6 separate regions of the Homo sapiens genome follow, and regions 2, 3, 4, 5 and 6 are each linked to region 1. Evidence: promoter capture Hi-C in 16 types of primary human blood cells and fetal thymus (Javierre and others, 2016). All regions are on one chromosome and are shown on one strand. Each heading gives the region's core, a stretch centred on a gene start or on the middle of the fragment in contact. The rest is flanking DNA. Distances are from core to core; before and after follow the strand shown.

Region 1 (3,082 bases), core at 215-2,714:
TCCTACCCATGAAACCTATAACAGAAGCCTCTGCTCTCTCCCTCGAAGGAGTGCTAAGAAGCCATAATGAGTTTATAATCCTGAATAGTAGAAATAAAACACCTAATTACAATGAGATGAAATTCACATTAGCTGCTCTGGCCCCAAACACAGCATACTAAGAAAATAAAGATGCTCTTGGTACTTAGGGGTGTGATTTTAATAGAAAAGGTAAGGTTCTCTGAAGTTACTCTGAAACGTATAGCACTTACAACTTTGATTGTCTACATAACTTATACAAATATTACACAATAACATCATAACCATGCAAAAACAAATGACCCCTGTACAAATTTTGGGTAGAATGCTGGGGGTTGGGTGTACAGTGGGGAGTAGGGGAGAGATGAAATAACTTAAACCCAGGCACTCTTACCTACAGCCTGAATGTTTTACTAACTAAAAGACTCCTTGGATAACTTAAATTAAAACCATCAACAACTTCCGATATTCAACCTTAGCTATCAACTTGTCCCATGAAAACAGGCTGGAAACCTGCCTCAGTCCTTGATGATTTCACCAGCTCAGGTTGGCATGGCACATGTCTCCTATCTAAAGCTTGGGTGAAGATAAAAGGAGAAAACTAAAATGGAGAACATGTTTAGATTCTGTAAACCAGAGTTAGGGGCTACTTTTTACAAATATCAATTCTATTTGTAACTGTATGTTTCCTGTTACTTGCCAAAATGAATCACAAACTCATTTGTGGACCCAATCATTTATCCATGTTCACTCTCCCAGACTTTGGGGGGCTTTCCTCAGATCTGGAAACTATTTTTGACAGCTGAGATTTTGTTCTAGACATGGAGTTTAGACTTGAGTTTGAGTTTAGCTTTAGTGTTTAAAGGGTTAAGGATGGGGCAGCCCAGGGTTAAGGGTTAAGGATGGGGCAGCAAAGGTAACATTCTACACTGAGTCTAGCCATGGGGAAGGGGCTTTGACAGTGTCTTCCTCAACAGGTTTTGCCATTGAAAGAAACATGAGACATTAAAGCTAAACTCAAACTCAAGTCTAAACTCCATGTCTGGAACAAAATCCCAGCTGTCAAAAATAGTCTCTAGATCTGAGAAAAGCCCTCCAAAGTCTGTCTGGCAGAATGAACATGGATAAATGATTGGATCCACAAATGACTTTGCCATTCATTTTGGCAGTACCAGGAAACAGACAGTCACAAATGGGATTAATATAATGAATGGCAGAGAAATGCTTAAAAAGATTTAAAAAGGAAGTGGTAATATTGATATTGCTACATATTGAACATTTGAACAATGTTTAGACATCAATTTCTGAAAACAAAGACAATGGCTATGAGCAGATACACTCAAAATGAAGAAACATTTATTTTTTGTTTTTTAAGAAAAGGTTAATCACATATTCATAGAGTCAGTTTGTTACTATGGAATCACATATGATGTCATAAATTTGACATTCTAAATGCAAAGCTAGACTGAGCAAGGGAAGTGACAGGAAATGGAGCTGGGGAGACAAAAATGTGGATAACAACAAAAGAATTTCAACAGGTAAAAAAATGAGTCAAACATCTCTCAAACAGAAAAAGGTGAGTGAACCGAGTGTCTTAGAATCTTGCCATGGGGCTGAAGAAATGTGGATATCAGTCCATCATTTGCCTCTGCAAAGGCTCTGCAATGATCAAATAATTTCAGATAATGGCTTCAGGTAGAGGAAAAGAGAAGGGAGAGAATAAAGGCAATGGAAAGAGTACAGAAAAGGGAAGAAGGAGAAATTTAAAAGAAATTAAGACAGCAAAGAAAGAGATTAAAAAACGTGTAGTATATAAATGATTCCAATAAGTCAGTATTCATTTAGCATATACTCATATGTTAGTAGTAAAAGGTAAAAACAGTGGCTGTCTTTGAAGAATGCATGGCCTAGTAGGAAAGACAATAGACAAAGGACAACTCATTGCTCCATAAAAGTATGTACAAAAGACACAAGGAACACAGGGCAATATTTCACTCTGGGAACTTCCCCCAGGTCACACTGAGCTGGGTTTCGAAGAACACAGGAGAGAAGAGGAGACCATAAGGAAATAAGGCTGGTGTATGCAGGCAAATACAAGTCACTTGGTATTAGTAGAACATAGTGATAAAGTATAGAGTGAAGGGCATGCAAGTAGCAGGTACACAGGAAAACATCATGAGGCTCCTGGTCAAACCAAGTGAAGAAAGTGTTTATCCAGGAATGAAGCATTACTAGATTTACATCTTGTAAATATTACTCTAAATAAATACGGTGGACAGATCTAGAAGTGGAGAGGATTTAAGGCCATGAAACCTGTTTGAAAGGCTATATTCTGAAAATGTAGTCCCAGGATGGTCAGAGACCTGGAACAAGGCAATGATAATAGAGATAGAAAAAAGGAACTGGATTCAAAATATCATTTGGAATTAGAAGTAAGAGGTATTATGGTGACTGCTATGTATGTGTATAAGGTGAGTGAGGGTTGATGAAAAGATTTTAAAATTAGTTCAGGAGTCATACAGCTATGCCATTCTCTCATGCAACTAACATTCTCATGCAACTAACATTGATGAGATTTTTCCTGCATGCAAGACACAGAGCATAAACGGATGAATATAGACTGCTCTAGTGGATCTTGGTCTAACTTAGAAGTTGTGCTCCTTAAACATATAAATAACACTAATCTTGATCACATTGCAGCTACTTACTTAGCATGAAACAGTTCAAATAATATTCCAATAAGTATCTCCTCCAAATGAAAATGAAAACATAAATATTTGAGTAGAGTTCCATAAAGTGAGTCATCTTCTTGTGCTCTTTTACTTGGTTTTCCCTATCTGTTGTTAATTTGTTGGTAAGAAATCCCTTTCCACTCTAGATCTATGAGTAATTAAATGATAGGAACAGAAGACATGACTTTCAATAAATTTGTATGAGATTAAGGTCCTTATATTTAGAAATCAAACTAATATTGGTGAGGCTAGAGCCACAAAAAGTTTGAGCTGTAGTGATGATGAAAACAAGAAAAAATTGAATTCTAAATGGCAAGGAAAAGTAAGTTCCA
Region 2 (3,082 bases), core at 423-2,922, 840 kb before region 1:
GATAAAGACATACCTAAGACTGGGCAATTTATAAAGGAAACAGGTTTAATGGTGAACTCACAGTTCCACATGCCTGGGGAGGCCACACAATCATGGTGGGAGGCAAGGAGGAGCAAGTTACATCTTATGTGAACACTAGCAGGAAAGAGAGAGCTTATGCAGAGAAATTCTCATTTTTAAACCCATCAGATCTTGTGAGATTCATTCACTATCATGAGAACAGCATGGGAAACACCCACCCCCATGATTCAATCATCTCCCACCAGGTCCCTCCCACAACTTTTTGGAATTATGAGAGCTTCAAGATGAGATTTGGGTGGGGACACAGAGCCAAATCATATCAATGAGAATTTTCTTCCTTACCTTTTCTGGCTTCTAGAGGTCACCTGTATCTCTTGTATTTTCTGCAGCTCCAGGGCCACATGGGTGCCCAGGCCATAGCTCCCACCAGGCCTCTGTCAAGACCAAGTCCAGACAAAACTTGCTGTTGAGAAGGGGACCCTCACTCTGCACCAGGTTTTATTCTCTTTAGCTCAGGACTCAGCAGATCCAAGCTGTAGATTGGAGATATAAACAGACAAGGTTGAGAAAGGCAAGAGGCAAGGCAACCCAGGTGCCCTATGCGACTGACTTGCCAGGGAGAGCAGATCCCGGGTCTCATTTCTTTCTCCTTCCCCAGCATCCACAAAGCCCTGCATGTTGTTTCAGTAATAAAACCTCAAATTTTTTAGCACTGTTATTTCATTGAACTTACCCAGTTTCTGTGCCACAGGTACTATTATTTTTCCTACTTTCCAGATAAAGAAATTTAGGGAGGGAAAGTGACCTGCTTGAGGTTACTGCAAGCAACTAGTAGTCCGAGGCTCAGGCTGCGTGGTGCTCTTAGATCTCACCATAAGAGATGTCAACAATTTGAATATCCAGTGCCTTTTCAAGAGGGGTGGAGTTATTGCTCATATTAATGGCAAAAGAGGAGAGAATGTGCCTTCTTTTCCAAATAAAAGAAAACCAGACCAAAAAACACCTGCATACAAATGCTCACACGTGGGACCAGGCATCACATTTATCATCACTGAAAGGTGCCTGAACTGCAGAAATCTTTTTGAGCAATAAGCTTGTCCTGGAATGTTGCCCTTCTTCACAATGGTCTTCAAGGCATAAGTATTCCCTGCAAGCCCAGAGTATTTTAATGCATGTTTTATATAAGTAGCCATTAGGCAAATGTTTTAAGTGGCTCCAGTAAGCTACTTTTACCACATATAGCCTGCTTTTTCAAAAAACAAGAACGATTAAGAGCAACAACGTAAATCAGCTATTTAGTCCACAAAATTCCATTTTGTATAATAGAATTATGAGAGTGTATGTTTCAACAATCTATTTATTAAAAGAATTTAGAGAAAAATTGCTGCCTTGAGTATGTTTTTTAGTCCCTCATAGTGTCTAGCACAGGAGCTTGCAACAAAGTAATGAAATGCTCAGTAAATGTTTCACTGGCTAAATGTAGTTAGCAACACCTTCATTAGTGTAAATATCAGTTAGCTTCTAAATGAGATGTCTTTCTTAGACACCTATCATAAGGTTACTCTTCATTGCTCATAAGATGCAGATTTTTAGCATCCTGTTCAAAGTTATTTGAAATCTGGCTCCAGCCCACCTTACCAACTTCCTTCCCTGTATACTGCAACTACATGATGTTGACTTATCCCTTCAAAATGCTTGAACTTTCTTGCCTCCATGCTTTTGTTCATTTTTGCTTTTTCTACCTAACATGTTCTTTTTCCCTTGTCTGTTACAATCCCTTCAAAACCAAATTCAAATTCAATTTCCTCTGCGAAGCCATATCCAGTTGTTACCACTCAGAATAAACTCTACCCTCTCTTTGGCCCGGGTTATAAACTGTGTGTAATTCTAATGTAGCACTTACCACAGTCTCCTGTAGGTTCCAGTTAGGTGTGTATATTTTGCTCCACATTCCACCATTCTCTGCTTCTTGAAGACACAGCCTCTTGCCTTGTGTTCTTTTGAATTTTCCAGTTACCAAGAGACTCACTTATATTAAATGCTCAAGAAATATTTATTTAAGGCAGTGGTTTTGGAACTGGGCTGCACAGTAGAAGAATATGGGGTAGTTTTTTTAAAAAAATACCAACTCTTATACCCCACCTTAAAATAAATAAGTCAAAATCTCTGGGAGATGGGGCCCAAACACTGATGTGTTAATAAAGCTTCTCACGTGGTTCCACTGTGGGCAGAGATGAGCTTTAAGATCTGTTAGCTGGAAGGTAGCCCCCCACTAACTCACAGTTTTTCCCGGCCTTGATCACCCACATCTCTGAAGATAAATCCTTGCACCTGGAAAAGTTTTGACTTCACCATGACTTTGAAGTGAACTTTAACTTCTAAAGAAATCTGTGATGACACAAAAGGCAGGTAAGATATATAGTTGAGAGATCAGCCCCCACATGTGGAAGTGGTTTGTTGCACTCTGGAATGTACCTGTGGAAAAGGTAGTTTTGAAAATGTGAGTAGCAGATGCTCCTGTTCATACACATGCAGTTGACTGATTATGGTGTGCAATCACTTCTCAAATTCAAAATCAGTTGTCTTCCAGAGGTGTTTCCCTTAATCAGGTCTGTGGTGCCAACATGTGGATTGGCAGACCACGCCTTTTATGCAGCTTTATGGAGGCTTGCCCTAGGCTGTCATGCCTTGCTTCCTGTCCTCCTGTCTTTACAGGTGGAATGGGTAATGTTTCTCTATGCCAGTACAGCTAGTTCCTATGAAGCAAGACTACTGGCCCTATGTCAGTGGTTAAAACCTATATTACTGGGCTCTATCCCCAGAGTTTATGATTCAGTAGGTTTGGGATAAAACCTGAGAATTTGCATTCCTAAATTCCCAAGTGATCCTGATGCTGCTGGACTAGTGACCACATTTTGAAAACCACTGCTCTGGAAACAAGAACAAAAAAGAGAATAGAAAAATAATTGATTTGATTCTTAAAGTGGTATAGGTTAAGGTTATAATTGCTTATAAAGGCTATGAGGAGAGAGAAGTGGCTGTGATTCTTTTTTTTTTTTTT
Region 3 (3,082 bases), core at 147-2,646, 810 kb before region 1:
TCACATGTTGATCTCAGTTTCAGAAGGAATGCTAATTGTTTTGTCAACCTAAAATGAATTTTTAAACAGTAAAGTTTGTCGGGTTTTTTTGTTTTATTTTGTTTTGCTTAGAGACACGTTCTTACTCCACGCCAGGCTGGAGTGCAGTAGTGCAATCATAGCTCACTGTAACCTTGAACCCCTGGGCTCAAGCAATCTTTCTGCCTCAGCTTCCTGAGTAACTTGGAGTGCAGGTGCACACCACTATGCCTGGCTAATATTTTTATTTTTTATCTTTTGTAGAGACAAGGCCTTGCTGTGTTACCCAGATTGGTCTGCAGTGAAGTTTTATATATTTTTTGATGATTTATTGCTTGGCAAAATATTCTACTTTTTTGACAATGTTAGTTGTTTGTTCTTTTGGGTTTTTTTTTCCATAATGACAATATTACTCATTCAAGTAAGTAATAGGCTTTATGATGCTTCCTGTGAAATCTTTATTGTTTAGTGAAAATTTATGGACATTTTCTGGTGAATTTATCTTGCAATCAGAAGCTGCTTATGGTGGAAAAGTATCTTTGCTCAGTAATATTCTCAGACCACCAAATATCTGTTTCTAACACAGAAATTCCTGGAATCTGAGCCACTGAAAAATTACTAGCAAGTCTCTGCTTCTTGGTATCTATGTTAACCAAAGTGTGTGTAGAATAGAACAGCAGTTCCTAGTGAACCTGCACCACCCCTGCTGACAACTGCAGGAGGCCTTATTCATCACTGTCCTCCACCGTCTCACTTTCCCAGGGCCGTAAGGGTATAACACCTAGTGCACATTTTCTTATGGTGTCTTGGGCCGTGATTGTCTCTCCGCAGGTATTTAGTCATGGATTCATAGCAGATAATTGACTGTGAGTTTTTACTACAGTCAGCAATTTTCTTTTTCTTACAGAAGCTTTGTCTTCATTCTATTTGGTGTTGCATTCAAATGATGCTTATCATCTTTCAGTGCTCTGCATTTATAGATGGTGGGATTCTTATGTTTCTCTTTTTACTTAAGTGTTATCCCTAGTAACTTTTACACTTTCTATTTCATTCAAAATTAGATATGAATATAACCTTTTGTGTTTTTCTAATTCATTAGAAAATTATTTTGTGTTTTTCTAATATCTTTACCATAAACAATTTAACACAAATGCTTAATTATTTCCTCTATTGAGTCATATTAAAAGGTACTTTGGAATGCTATTAAAGGGATATTTGGCATTTTTGCTGCTTCCACATCAAGAAATAGAGTGTAGCACAAAACAAAAATGAAATAAAATATTGCACATATGAAATACATCCATGGCCTGTGTGGAGATTTGGGGGACTCTGAGATCACTTTAAGTACCCTACTTCCCTGGAGGTTCTATCCTGGGTTCATGTATTCTCAGTGGTGACAAAGTCTAGGGTTGCAGCCTGCACAAGATGTTATCTGAGTTGTTTCTGAAAACATTAATATAAATGCCACTGTCAGACTTGCTAATTGGATGCATGTTGATAATCCAGTGAAGGAAAAGGAACAGATAGCACCATCTCTGAGCTTGGAGTTCCTGTTCCAGTGGAGGAAACCTCTTACTAAGCAAGTGAACTTTGTGGATTAGGGTAGGGGTGGGCTGCAGAAATGGGATTCCACCCAGGAAACATTAAATGAATGGCTTACGGGGATGAGATCAACAGGGAGGGTATCGCTCAGGATGGTGAGTGAGGGAGGCTAGGAGGTGGCTCTGCTGCTGCAGATATACTATCTTCTAACTGAGTCCATTTGGACCAAGCTAATACAAACTTTGCTATATGCTGGCACAGCTCAATGAGAAAAATTGTCAGATGATTCTTTGGGAAAGCTTAGGCAAACCAGAGGATCACGGTGCTGTGCAATGCTCTTAATCCCTCAACAATTATTTGCTTAATTGAGCTTTTCCCCATTACTAAGTTCTAATCATATAAAACATCCTAGGCAAATGCCAATGAAGACAGAAACACATGTCTGAAAAGAGTTTAAAATTGTTATGGCACACAGAATAATGGCATTTTCCATCTAACATATCGTCTGTGTTAATAAGGTTCAAAGACCTTTAATTCTGAAATCACTAAGAGATAGATAATGGACAAGTTTGTTTTACATGTAAGTCAAGAAGGGGTTAGATTATGGCTAATCCCTTCAAAGTCTGTTCTTGAATAAAAAAATTGAACCAGAAAGAATTTAAGTACAGTACAATACTAAGAAGAGAAAGCCATTCTAACTCGTTTCTTTTGGTTGTGTTTGTAAATGTTCATATACATCAACTAAGTCAAACTGGAAGGGAGACCGTGCAGTAGATACCAGCAAAATCCTTTGCCAAATAATCACTAGAAATATGGTAGCTTGCAAACTAAACATGCTCAAAGTAGCAGGAAATGATGAGAACTGAGGTTGTCTGATTAAATCTAACTGTGTGGATTCCAGTAGAATTGCAGATGTAGGAGTAGGTACATTAGCAGATAGACTTGCCAAGCTCAGCTTGAAAAATAGAGAAATAAAAGCTGGGACCACAATATGAAAAGAGTCTCTCTTTGATGACATGCTACCCAAGGAGAATAGTTATTGGGAGGTGGATAGAGGATAGAATAGATTAGAATTAGAATATGGTGGAGGCATGAAGGATTAGATGATTCTTTGCATAGTTAAAGGAATGCATAACAAATACTTTGTTGAGCTATCAGGTAGAGCAATGTTAATGCTAGGGCAGTCCTCTACAGCTTAGTTGTCCATGAGCTGACTTAAGATAGCAGAGCTTGCCACTGTGTCTGCCACTCTACTGGAATAAGCTATGACAGTACAATATAATTAGAAAATACTGTTTTTGAAAAACAACAAATACTTTCTTTTGTATATGGATGGGCTCCAAATATTTTTACTGAGCAGTGGTGGAATGTTAATTTAGGCCCATTTTCAAGCAGCCATAAAATAAAATTATTAAAAAATATTTTAATACACCTTCAAAACTAATGTCAGAATTGGATGCATGAAGCCCATGTAGGCTGCCAAGTGGAACCCAGCATAAGGCCGAACACTGATGAGCTGTTT
Region 4 (3,082 bases), core at 252-2,751, 790 kb before region 1:
TGATGATTAACAGCAGAAACAATAGCCCGAACCATAAACATCTTTATTGGTTCAGATTATACAATTCCGACTAAATAATAAAAGTTGGACAAACTTTATACTTAATGGGTGCCAAAACCATTGCACCCTGATCAGCTGCAAATAAAGACAGAGCTTTCAATAGAAATTTTAAACAAGTGGGATCAAGATCTTGAAGATTTTCTTCAAAGAACTATAACAGGAGCTGAAATATGACTTTACCAGTATAATTCTGAAGAGAAAGCACAATCAAAGCAATGACTACCAAGAGGCGGTAGTGATCCAGTCAAAGTAAAAGTGGACTGGCCAAGAGCAGAAGTCATGGCAACAGTTTTTTTTTTTTTTTAGATCCTCAAGGGGTTTTGCTTGTAGACTTTCTGGGGGGCCAAAGACAATACATCTACCTACTATGAGAGTGTTGTGAGAAAGTTAGTCAAAGCTTTAGAAGAAAAGCATCCAGGAAAGCTTTACCAGACAGTCCTTCCCCATCCTGACAATGCTCCTGCTCATTCCTCTCACTAAACAAGGGAAGTTTTGTGAGAGTTTCAATAGAAAATCATTAGTCCTGATTTGGCTTCTTATGATTTATTTTTGTTTCCCAATTAAACAAAAATCTTTAAAATGCACAAATTTTTCTTCAGCTAATAATGTAAAAAAGACTGTACTGACTAAATGGCTGGTATCATCACTTATAAAAATGCCTTAAAGTGGATGGAGCTTATGTTGAGAAATAAAATAATAAAATTCATATTTTTATGTTTACCTTTTAATTCAATTTTCCACAAACTTTTTGAAGTACACACACACACACACACACACACATATATATATACACATATATATGTGTACATCTTATTGGTTCTGTTTTTCTGGAGAACCCTCATACAGTACACAAGTACAAAAAGCATGATATACTAGAAGCAGCAGAAACAGACCTATAAAGATGGCATTTCTTCAAATTATTAGACAAGGGAATGAAAGAACTATTCCTACTATTTCGCTGAGAACAACTACAAAGGACAGATAAAATGGGGGAGGGGGGATGCTTGAAGGTATTAGCGTATTATACAGGATTTGAGTGGCCAAGGTCTCAGAGAAAAAGTAGGTGCATCAATATTGTATACATAAATACATCAATACATCACTTTTCCCTTCAGATCAGTTACAATTTTTTTAAGAACAAGATGAGGACAGGTAGAGGTTAGTGCTAAGAATTAGAGAAGCCAGCAGAGTTTCAGTAACCTCACAAAACTAGGAAACAAAAGTTGGAGTTTGAGACTCAGAAGGCAGCCAGGACGTGAGAGATCAAGAGAAGTGGGGTTCAAAGACATGACACAACACCCAGCAACTTTCCTTTCAATGCCTTTGTTAAATTGTGATGTTGCACAGGGCAAGAAGATAAAAAACCAAGCAAACTTCTGCCTCCATTCAGAAGGAATGAATTAACGGCTTTGAGAATATCTTTCCATCATAAACAACTAGAAAAACAGACAAAACATATGTAGATAAATGTAAAGCAGTGCAGCAGGTAAATATATAATATTTCTAGAAGACAACGTAAGAAAATAACTTTATAACCTTGAAGTAAGAAAAGATTTCTTAAAAGGGATGTGAAATGAACCTGCAAAAAAAAGACTACGTTGCAATTAGGAACTGATTATGAAAATATACCATTAATAGGTCAAAAAGACAAGCCACTTAGTGGAAGAAAATAGTTACAAAAAATATATTTGAAAGAGAACGCATATCAAGAATATAAAAATAACCCATACAAAATAAGAAAAAGCCAAATAGAAAAGTGGGCAAAAGAATTGAATAGGAACTTCACAAAAGAAGATATTCTTATGGCCAATTAACGTGTAATAAAGTGCTCAATCTCATTAGTCTTCAAATAGTGCAAATTAAATCTCCAGTGAGATATCATTCATTATACAACATCAAATGGCTAAAATGAAAAACCGTTACCACCAAATTTTGGTGAAGATGTTAAGCAACTGGAACTCACTTACTGTAGTAAAAGATTTGGGACTATTGTGGTGATTTTGTAGCATATCAACCTTGCTGAACTTAAACCACATTTCCCAGAATTTCTTTGTGTAGGTGGTTCTGGGCTAAAGTTGACTCAGTAGACATCTCTTCAGGATTTGGAAGTCAGAGGTGAAGCCATTTTACACTTGAAAGAACTGTGTGCATCAGGTGTTGTTACAGCTCTCAAATACTTTTAATGATCTGCTGACTCATTGTGATGGGGCAGTAGCTGGGCCCACAGCTCCTCCAACTCCTTGTGAATCTTCTTCATCTTCTCTAAATCCTAGGTCAGGTGCATGGACATCTCCATGGAAAAGTGTGCCAAAATACCCTGCAGGTCACCCACATTACCAAGCCTGGAGGCATTAAAAGACAGATGGAGTTCCAGGTTGTCATTGCTTTCTGCCATTGCATGAATATCCACTGCCCCTGCTGACTTTCAATCAATACTAGACACAGAGACAAGAAGCTTATGTAGATGGTGTAAACAGCTCCCAGGGTTGCATGAGGTCTAATTCCTATGATTAATTCCTGATTCTGTATCAGTTATAGTGGCCTGCTTTTCTGATCAAGCTTTATCTGATTGATAGATCTTTTTCATCATTTGAGACTATACGTTTTTTCAGGGAGGATCTAAATAATGGAAATGCTTAAGTGAAAGAAGAGACAAATTAATAACCTTGTCAAGTCCTTCCTCTTACCATGCATATAATATATTCTTGTACAGTGAAATACCATAATATTTATTCCCAGTTAATGCATCATTATTATTCCCAGTAGTACCAAACATCCATTTTCTTTCTTTTATTTATGTTCCAATTTGTGGTTTCAGAGGTACTCACAAATTACCGTGTATTTATCATAGGTTTCAATCAGTGCATCTGTTAGCAGTGCTGGCTGGGGAAACCATGGGGGTTGGCAAAGTGTGTGGAAACAGACAGGCATTTCTGGTGCTGACCACATCAGCTGCATCCTCCTTTGTGGTTACTAATAAATTGAATTTTTTAATAAGCTCCCAATTTGTGGATTCCACCTT
Region 5 (3,082 bases), core at 332-2,831, 750 kb before region 1:
TCTATTCATAATCATCAGAGTTTGAAATTAGGGAGTGAGCCAAAACTAAGTATTACAGGTATTTTAGCTGTGGTTGTTAGGTCCTCTCACAATTAGTTGCTAAATATATTTTTGACTGACAGGAAAAAATGTAAAATGTCTAGAGTTTTCTTTGAATCTCTAATATCGACTTATTTCCCTGCTATATAAATTATTCTGAGCAGCATAATGTGTACAGGCCAGAAAGGCATGGCGCCTGAATATCAGTGACCAAGAAAGAATCTTCAGAGCTGCTAATATAACCTCTGAGGAGCCCAGGGGAAAAAATCCATTCTGCCCTTTTCAGTTTGTTGGTTTTATTATTTTTCACTAAGAATGATTGTCCTAGGCCTACCTGACTGACACCAGGTCCATCGAGGTGCTTGGAACACCGCCGCCCCCCCCCAACCCACCCTCCTGCAGACACATAGCAAAGAGAGATGGGTGCACAGCTGGCTTTGGCTTGGTGCCTCCTTTGGCCCTAGGGGTCCACTTACCCCTGGCATAGGAGGCATGCATCTGCATCTGGATCATGAACAAAACTGTCTCACCTTGATTTCAGAAATACGTGCGAGAGTTTCACCCTTTGAGAACCAACCACCCACCTCTCACTTGAGCTCTCCTTAGCTGCTTTCCAAGGAGCCTAGAGTCCCTCACTTTCTCATGAGAATCCTTCCTTCCTTCCTTAGTAAGAGATGATGTTTATTATAGAATGCAGACCTATGGGGAGGGGATATTCTATATAGCTACCATTTGTTGAATCCTTACCATATCTGAAACATTGTGCCAAGAGATTTGCAATCACAAATATTCCCATTTTTTTAAATGAGGAAACTGAGGCTCAGAAGTACATTTTTGTACAAGATAACAAAGTTAGTAAATCATAGAACCAGCCTTCAAATCCAGATTCTTCAGACTCCAAAATCCATGGGCTCCCAGGACCCTGTACTGCCTCCCTGTAACTGAGATTCATTGAGGGGAGGCCCTGGCCTGACAAATGAGGAGTGCTGGGCTCTGACCTCCTGCTGGTGAGGAAGAAAGCAGCTAAGAGGTCCTGGGCTGAGAAAGCTTTGCCTCACCAGGTGCTCTGAGTGCTGGCACAGGAAGGATGAAAGCGGAAGTCCAAGCACAAAGTGGAAGTCTTCCTCCTGCTTCACAGGGTAGCCTTCCGGGGTGTCTCATTCAGGAGGGAGCCCATCCTGGGAGAAGGAAGAGAGCAGAAATGTGGCCAACCCCTGCCTGCACTAGGGACCTCATGCTTGTCTTTCTTCAGAAGAGGATGATGCTTGTTTGAGAGGGTGGCATAGTGTTTATGATGTTATACTGCATTTCTGTTCCTTTCACTAGCTGGAGTATGAGCTTGTGAACCTGAAAAATGTTGGAGCACCTCAGCTGGGAATGTCAAGGGCTAACAGAGGTGGCAGTGAGGCCTCAGATGGGTTTCAGGTTGCCGTCTTGATGGGACATGGCTTAGACTTTCCATTGCCCTTCAGAGTTTCTTCTTTAGCCAGGTTCCTTATACTAATGATCCGTATGATCAGTATGGCTGAAATATAGCTGAAGAAGGCAGTCAGCATATAGTGTCACCCAGACCAGACTTTTTCAGGATGCAGCCTGAAACTTTTTTACCTTCTCAGTCTGGTCCAGGGACTTCTCCAATGTACTTCTATAAAAGCTGTGACTTAACATTTCTGATGCTATATTACAAATATCTGCTTATAGACTGCAGGCTCCTTGAGGACATGAGCCAATTCTGCTTATCTCAGCATTCCCTGTGCCTTTTGTGGCACCTGAGCTTGAGAAGGTGTTCCTAGCTAAGCCGGACTTTGGAGGAGAACAGCCTTGGTCCAATTACAGAAATGAGGAAACTTCAAGGTAAAGAGGGGTGACTGGTTAATTGTGCTCCTGGGAAAAACATGCTTCTGATCATTAGGTTGAGAATGAGAACTGTGTGTTTAAAACTGGAGTAAAAAGAACAATCTACTGGTAGCCCTGACGGCAGCCAGCATGAAGGGGCTGCCCAGAAGGGACATTTTTGGAAGTGCGAACAAAAGCTTTGCTCTAGGACATCCTAGATTGCTTTTCCAAATAATTATAAGATGCGATGAAGGCTGCACCTTTTATTTCCATTTTATTCTGTTTAGGATGAAACATTTTAAATAAAAGTCCTGAAAATTTAGAAGGCAAATAAAGCAATCCTGCTAGTTTAATGAAGTCAAAGCTGTAAATGCAGCTTTTATGGAGTGTCAACCACTCCCTGAGGAACCTGGTAGCTAGAGGGAAAGGAGGGGGAGGGGCATCCTTTGACTCATCCCAAGGGGCCAGAACCTTTTTTCACTTTTCTGTAGCAAGTAGGGCTTCTAGAGAGGAGAGCTCTGCTAGTAAGGAATGATCCAGGGCCCTCTGGCCTGTGAATTTTTCCTTCAAGTGGCCTTACTTTCTTTCTGCATGATGAGACTGGAGGCATGGCATGGCTCTTTGAAAACCACCATCCCTTTGGGTTGGTGACCTTCTCCCTCTGGTACCTGTGTGCCAAGGGGGTGTATGGAAGACAGGCTTCTGTCCAGTGCCCTCTGTGGTATGTGGCCTATCTACAGCACTAGTCAGAATGCAATGGATAGAGGGCCACTCTGTACCCTGGGGTGTTCTTTCAGTAATCCTCTCATCACAGTCACCTCCAAAGGCTGCTCGCCCTGACAGTGGGGATGTGATGGGCAGGCTGTCAAATAGATTGTGAGTGCATTAGCAGGATTAGCAGTGAAGGCTAATATTGTAGCATTTCCAAAGTTCATTCACGGCAGCTGCTTGGCTGCCAAATTGGGCAGGCGCAGGCTTCAGAATTAATGTCACATCTGGGATGGCCCTGATGTGGTCAGAGGCACAACAGTCCCATTGTGTTTGACTTGTGTTTATGTATTTTTATTCTATAACAGAGTTTAATTTGTAACATTAGTAGAAAGATACCGTCTAAGTGTTCTTTTCCATCTTATTGATGAACTAGCTGAAATACTTCTGCCACCCTTCAAAACCAGATGCTTTGTTTTTGGTAGTTCTTGGAGTATTG
Region 6 (3,082 bases), core at 342-2,841, 730 kb before region 1:
ATAGGTTTGGCCTCCCGGTGCCCTCCTCAAGCAGAGCGGCTGGCTCGTCTCTCTGCTACACATTTTGCCTCTAGGTAAAATATAATATCATTCTAACCAAGAGTTAAAACATCTAAAAGATGGAAAAAGTGAAAACCCTTGATTCATAGGATAGTAAGGTGGTAGTGATGGTTGTGGGGATGTTATGTAAACAATGACAGAGGCCTTCATTGGCCAGTGTTTACAACTATACACAGTCATTATCTAAAAGTATAAGCATAGTTTATTCTTAAATTGTTGGGCGGTCTTTGCATTACATCATACATTAACAAGGTCTAAATAACAAAATATCCTCATATATACTCCATGATTTTTCAAGACTTTATTAATTCCTCCCTCTGCTGGCTCTTACTACTGCTCCTAGAATTATTAATCTACTCCCACCTCCAAATGCTTGTGACCCTCTCTTGTGCTACAATGGCTAGTTCATCCTTCTTGGTTTTTTCTCCTGGTTCCCCTGGAAAAATCAAGTTGGGTTGTTTTGGGTATCCTATTTGCTTAGGATTTTGTTGTTGTTGTTGTTGTTGTTTATATTCTAGGTCAATGCTGCTGAAGCTTTAGTGAGCATCACCTGTAGAGCTTTTTAATATACAGATTCCTAGTATTAATCCCAACTAGTAGGTGAGGTGGGGGGTGTCAGAGAATTTACATTTCTAACAAGATACCAGGTGATGCTCATGTAGCTAGTTTGAGGCCTTAATTTGATTAGTGCTGTTCTAGATGGTACTTCTAAATGGATAGAGTTTATTTACATATTTAGTATAATACATGAAAACTTTTATTGTCTTGTGGTTTCAAAATAAAAAATGTAGTATATAATACAAATCAATTTTAACCAGTGGTTACTTCTCTCTAAATTCTTGGCTTTTTGAGGACCAACGCTTACTCAGATTTTTATCCATGGTGAAGTCAGTTCACGTCATGCTCAGGAAGTATATGTTGATTGAATGAAAAAGGAAGGAAAAGATAACCAGCTGATGGAAGCCTGTAGCACTTGGGGCTCCAGGCTCACCCCTCACACCCTTGTGCCACATTTCATCCAAACCCTGGAAATTGTGATCTCTCTCACTTCCTGCTGCAATTCACTGGCAGCCTTGGGACCACCCTGCCTTAGGCTGAGAAGTGAGAAATTCTGAAAGCAATCGAACACTGTAAATTTTCACAGCAGTTCAACGGAAAGCTGTTGGGCACAGATGTTTCTGTAATTGTGATATGCTGGGAACATTCTCCGGCTCTAAGCACTGAGGGCCTGAGTCTCATTCTTCCACCTGGGTGCCTCAGTGGCCAAATCTTACTATAGTGAAGCTGTAATGGGAACCAGGTGGCAGCATGTGCCTGTCTTAAAAGAGCTGAGTGAGATTCATGTCCCAGTGTCAGTCCCTCCTTCCTTCCTGCCCCAGCACATTCCTTGGGGAGCCAGTTTTCATGATGGCAGACCCCACTACTTACTTGAGCATGGGGTGATTCTTAGCTCCTTGTCCAAGATGGGAATGGAATCTCATGTTTGCTGGTGGGGGGAGCCACAGAGGCCTTCCAGTTGCTCTTTGATAGGCTGTAAGAAAAGAACTCGGGAAAGGCTTGGGTGGTATGAAAGAATATGGGTATTCTAACTGACCTTTGTGTGATCAGGGTTACTACCATCATTTAAAAATCCACCAAAGGATCTTGAAACTTGTGACTTACTCCTTTCAAGCTGAATTTTCTTTTTGGGTATGATATTCCTGCTTTTAGCAAGAGATAGCCCTCATTTGCTTCAGGGCTCTTCCTGCTTTGAAACTGGAGGGAGGCTGTGAATAGCACAGGGGAAACATCTGCCACTGTTTGAAATGCATACCACAAAACTGACAAAAGTTCAAGGAACTTGGAACAGTTTTCACAAATGTTTCCAGTTGGAGGACTTTAACCTGTGCCTACTGTAGCCAAAAGCGTAAAGAGGACAGAGGGTGAAGGATGCAGAACAGTAGAGCTGGCAAGAGGAAACAGTGTAGCAGCAGACATTTCTTGGGAGGATGCGTGCCATGGTCAGTGTTCCAGTCCTGGTGACTCAGACTGAGTGACCATCCTTGCACTGCAACTGTCAGTGTTGCCACATAACAAATGGTCTTCTACTTCTTTTCACAAGATATTTGCTGAACACAAGCTGATGAAAACCTGTTTTTATAAACCGTAGTATAACTTTTATGTCTCAATTTTATCTATGTACAACATCTATATAACTGTGAAACAAAGGAAATTTATACAATATTCACAAATCTACGAGATCCAAGAGGAGTATCTACTTCCAATTGTAGCTTCCATGCAGAACATGTTCTACATTAAAACATACATAGTTAGATCTTTCTTCTTGGTTCCCATTATTCACCATGTAGTTATTTTTAAAAAAGTTACTCAGCCTGTTGAATCTATAATCTCCAAATAGAAAAAATTCCAAAAAAATATTTTTCTTTTATAATTTATAATTTTTCTTTTAAAATATTTTCTTTGGAGTGTTTTTATTATATCAGTTGGCTCAGTGAGGGAACTGATAAAAGAAAACTAAAAGAAGCTTCCATAGGGGAAAAAACCCCAGATAAACTATTAGAAGTAATGAGAAAATTCAGTAAATTTGCCAGATCCCAGATCAACTTAAATATATTTAACATTATTTTCACCAGCTATAATAAACTATCAACTAAAAAACTTAAACAACAAAGACAATAACTTTTTTTGACAATAACTTTCGTAATATCAATAAAAACTATAAAGTATCTAGGAGTTACCTTAATAAGGCATACACAGATTTATATAAAAATGTTAAATTCTACTTGAGTATGTACAAGATGATTTATTTAAATGGATATACATTCCCAGTTTTTGTATGGAATGACTTAATATTATCAAGCTGTCTCCCCAAATTAACTTATAAATTCAATATAATTCCATTTAAAATTCTAGTGGGGTATTTTGAAGACCTTGATACAAACATTCTAAAACTTACATAGAAGAATTAAGGTCCTTGAATAGCTAGGTCAATCTTAAAAAATAGAGAAAAGAGATTTTTTTT

Evidence for each region. Contacts are between HindIII fragments. The CHiCAGO score rates a contact against its expected background, and 5 or more counts as called.
Region 2: a fragment that was not itself captured here is called in contact with the fragment with the promoter of NT5C1B in region 1 in 2 of 17 cell types (monocytes and total CD8 T cells); the score reaches 5.3 in monocytes.
Region 3: a fragment that was not itself captured here is called in contact with the fragment with the promoter of NT5C1B in region 1 in 3 of 17 cell types (M2 macrophages, M1 macrophages and monocytes); the score reaches 5.5 in M2 macrophages.
Region 4: a fragment that was not itself captured here is called in contact with the fragment with the promoter of NT5C1B in region 1 in 1 of 17 cell types (M2 macrophages); the score reaches 6.2 in M2 macrophages.
Region 5: a fragment that was not itself captured here is called in contact with the fragment with the promoter of NT5C1B in region 1 in 1 of 17 cell types (total CD8 T cells); the score reaches 5.1 in total CD8 T cells.
Region 6: a fragment that was not itself captured here is called in contact with the fragment with the promoter of NT5C1B in region 1 in 3 of 17 cell types (total CD8 T cells, total B cells and total CD4 T cells); the score reaches 6.5 in total CD8 T cells.

What each region holds. Positions count from the first base shown.
Region 1 is chr2:18,587,951-18,591,032 of GRCh38, reverse strand. NT5C1B (5'-nucleotidase, cytosolic IB) reads left to right here and starts at 1,464. Exons shown (of 9, transcript NM_033253.4): 1 at 1,464-1,594. The coding sequence starts at 1,565. It overlaps NT5C1B-RDH14 (NT5C1B-RDH14 readthrough), which reads left to right and starts at 1,464. Exons shown (of 11, transcript NM_001199104.2): 1 at 1,464-1,594. The coding sequence starts at 1,565. The region is part of intron 2 of LOC105373456 (a long non-coding RNA gene); the gene reads right to left. The HindIII fragment of the contact is 3,581 bases long and covers 597-3,082 here.
Region 2 is chr2:19,429,016-19,432,097 of GRCh38, reverse strand. It overlaps LOC105373458 (a long non-coding RNA gene), which reads left to right. Exons shown (of 3, transcript XR_939778.2): 3 at 411-2,105. Among named protein-coding and RNA genes, the nearest start is that of LINC01808, 38 kb to the left of the region's middle. The HindIII fragment of the contact is 1,111 bases long and covers 1,117-2,227 here.
Region 3 is chr2:19,401,796-19,404,877 of GRCh38, reverse strand. No RefSeq gene overlaps it. Among named protein-coding and RNA genes, the nearest start is that of OSR1, 45 kb to the right of the region's middle. The HindIII fragment of the contact is 931 bases long and covers 931-1,861 here.
Region 4 is chr2:19,379,921-19,383,002 of GRCh38, reverse strand. No RefSeq gene overlaps it. Among named protein-coding and RNA genes, the nearest start is that of OSR1, 23 kb to the right of the region's middle. RefSeq lists an enhancer at 1,435-2,634. The HindIII fragment of the contact is 2,032 bases long and covers 486-2,517 here.
Region 5 is chr2:19,336,640-19,339,721 of GRCh38, reverse strand. No RefSeq gene overlaps it. Among named protein-coding and RNA genes, the nearest start is that of MIR4757, 10 kb to the left of the region's middle. The HindIII fragment of the contact is 986 bases long and covers 1,089-2,074 here.
Region 6 is chr2:19,318,188-19,321,269 of GRCh38, reverse strand. No RefSeq gene overlaps it. Among named protein-coding and RNA genes, the nearest start is that of MIR4757, 29 kb to the left of the region's middle. The HindIII fragment of the contact is 1,990 bases long and covers 597-2,586 here.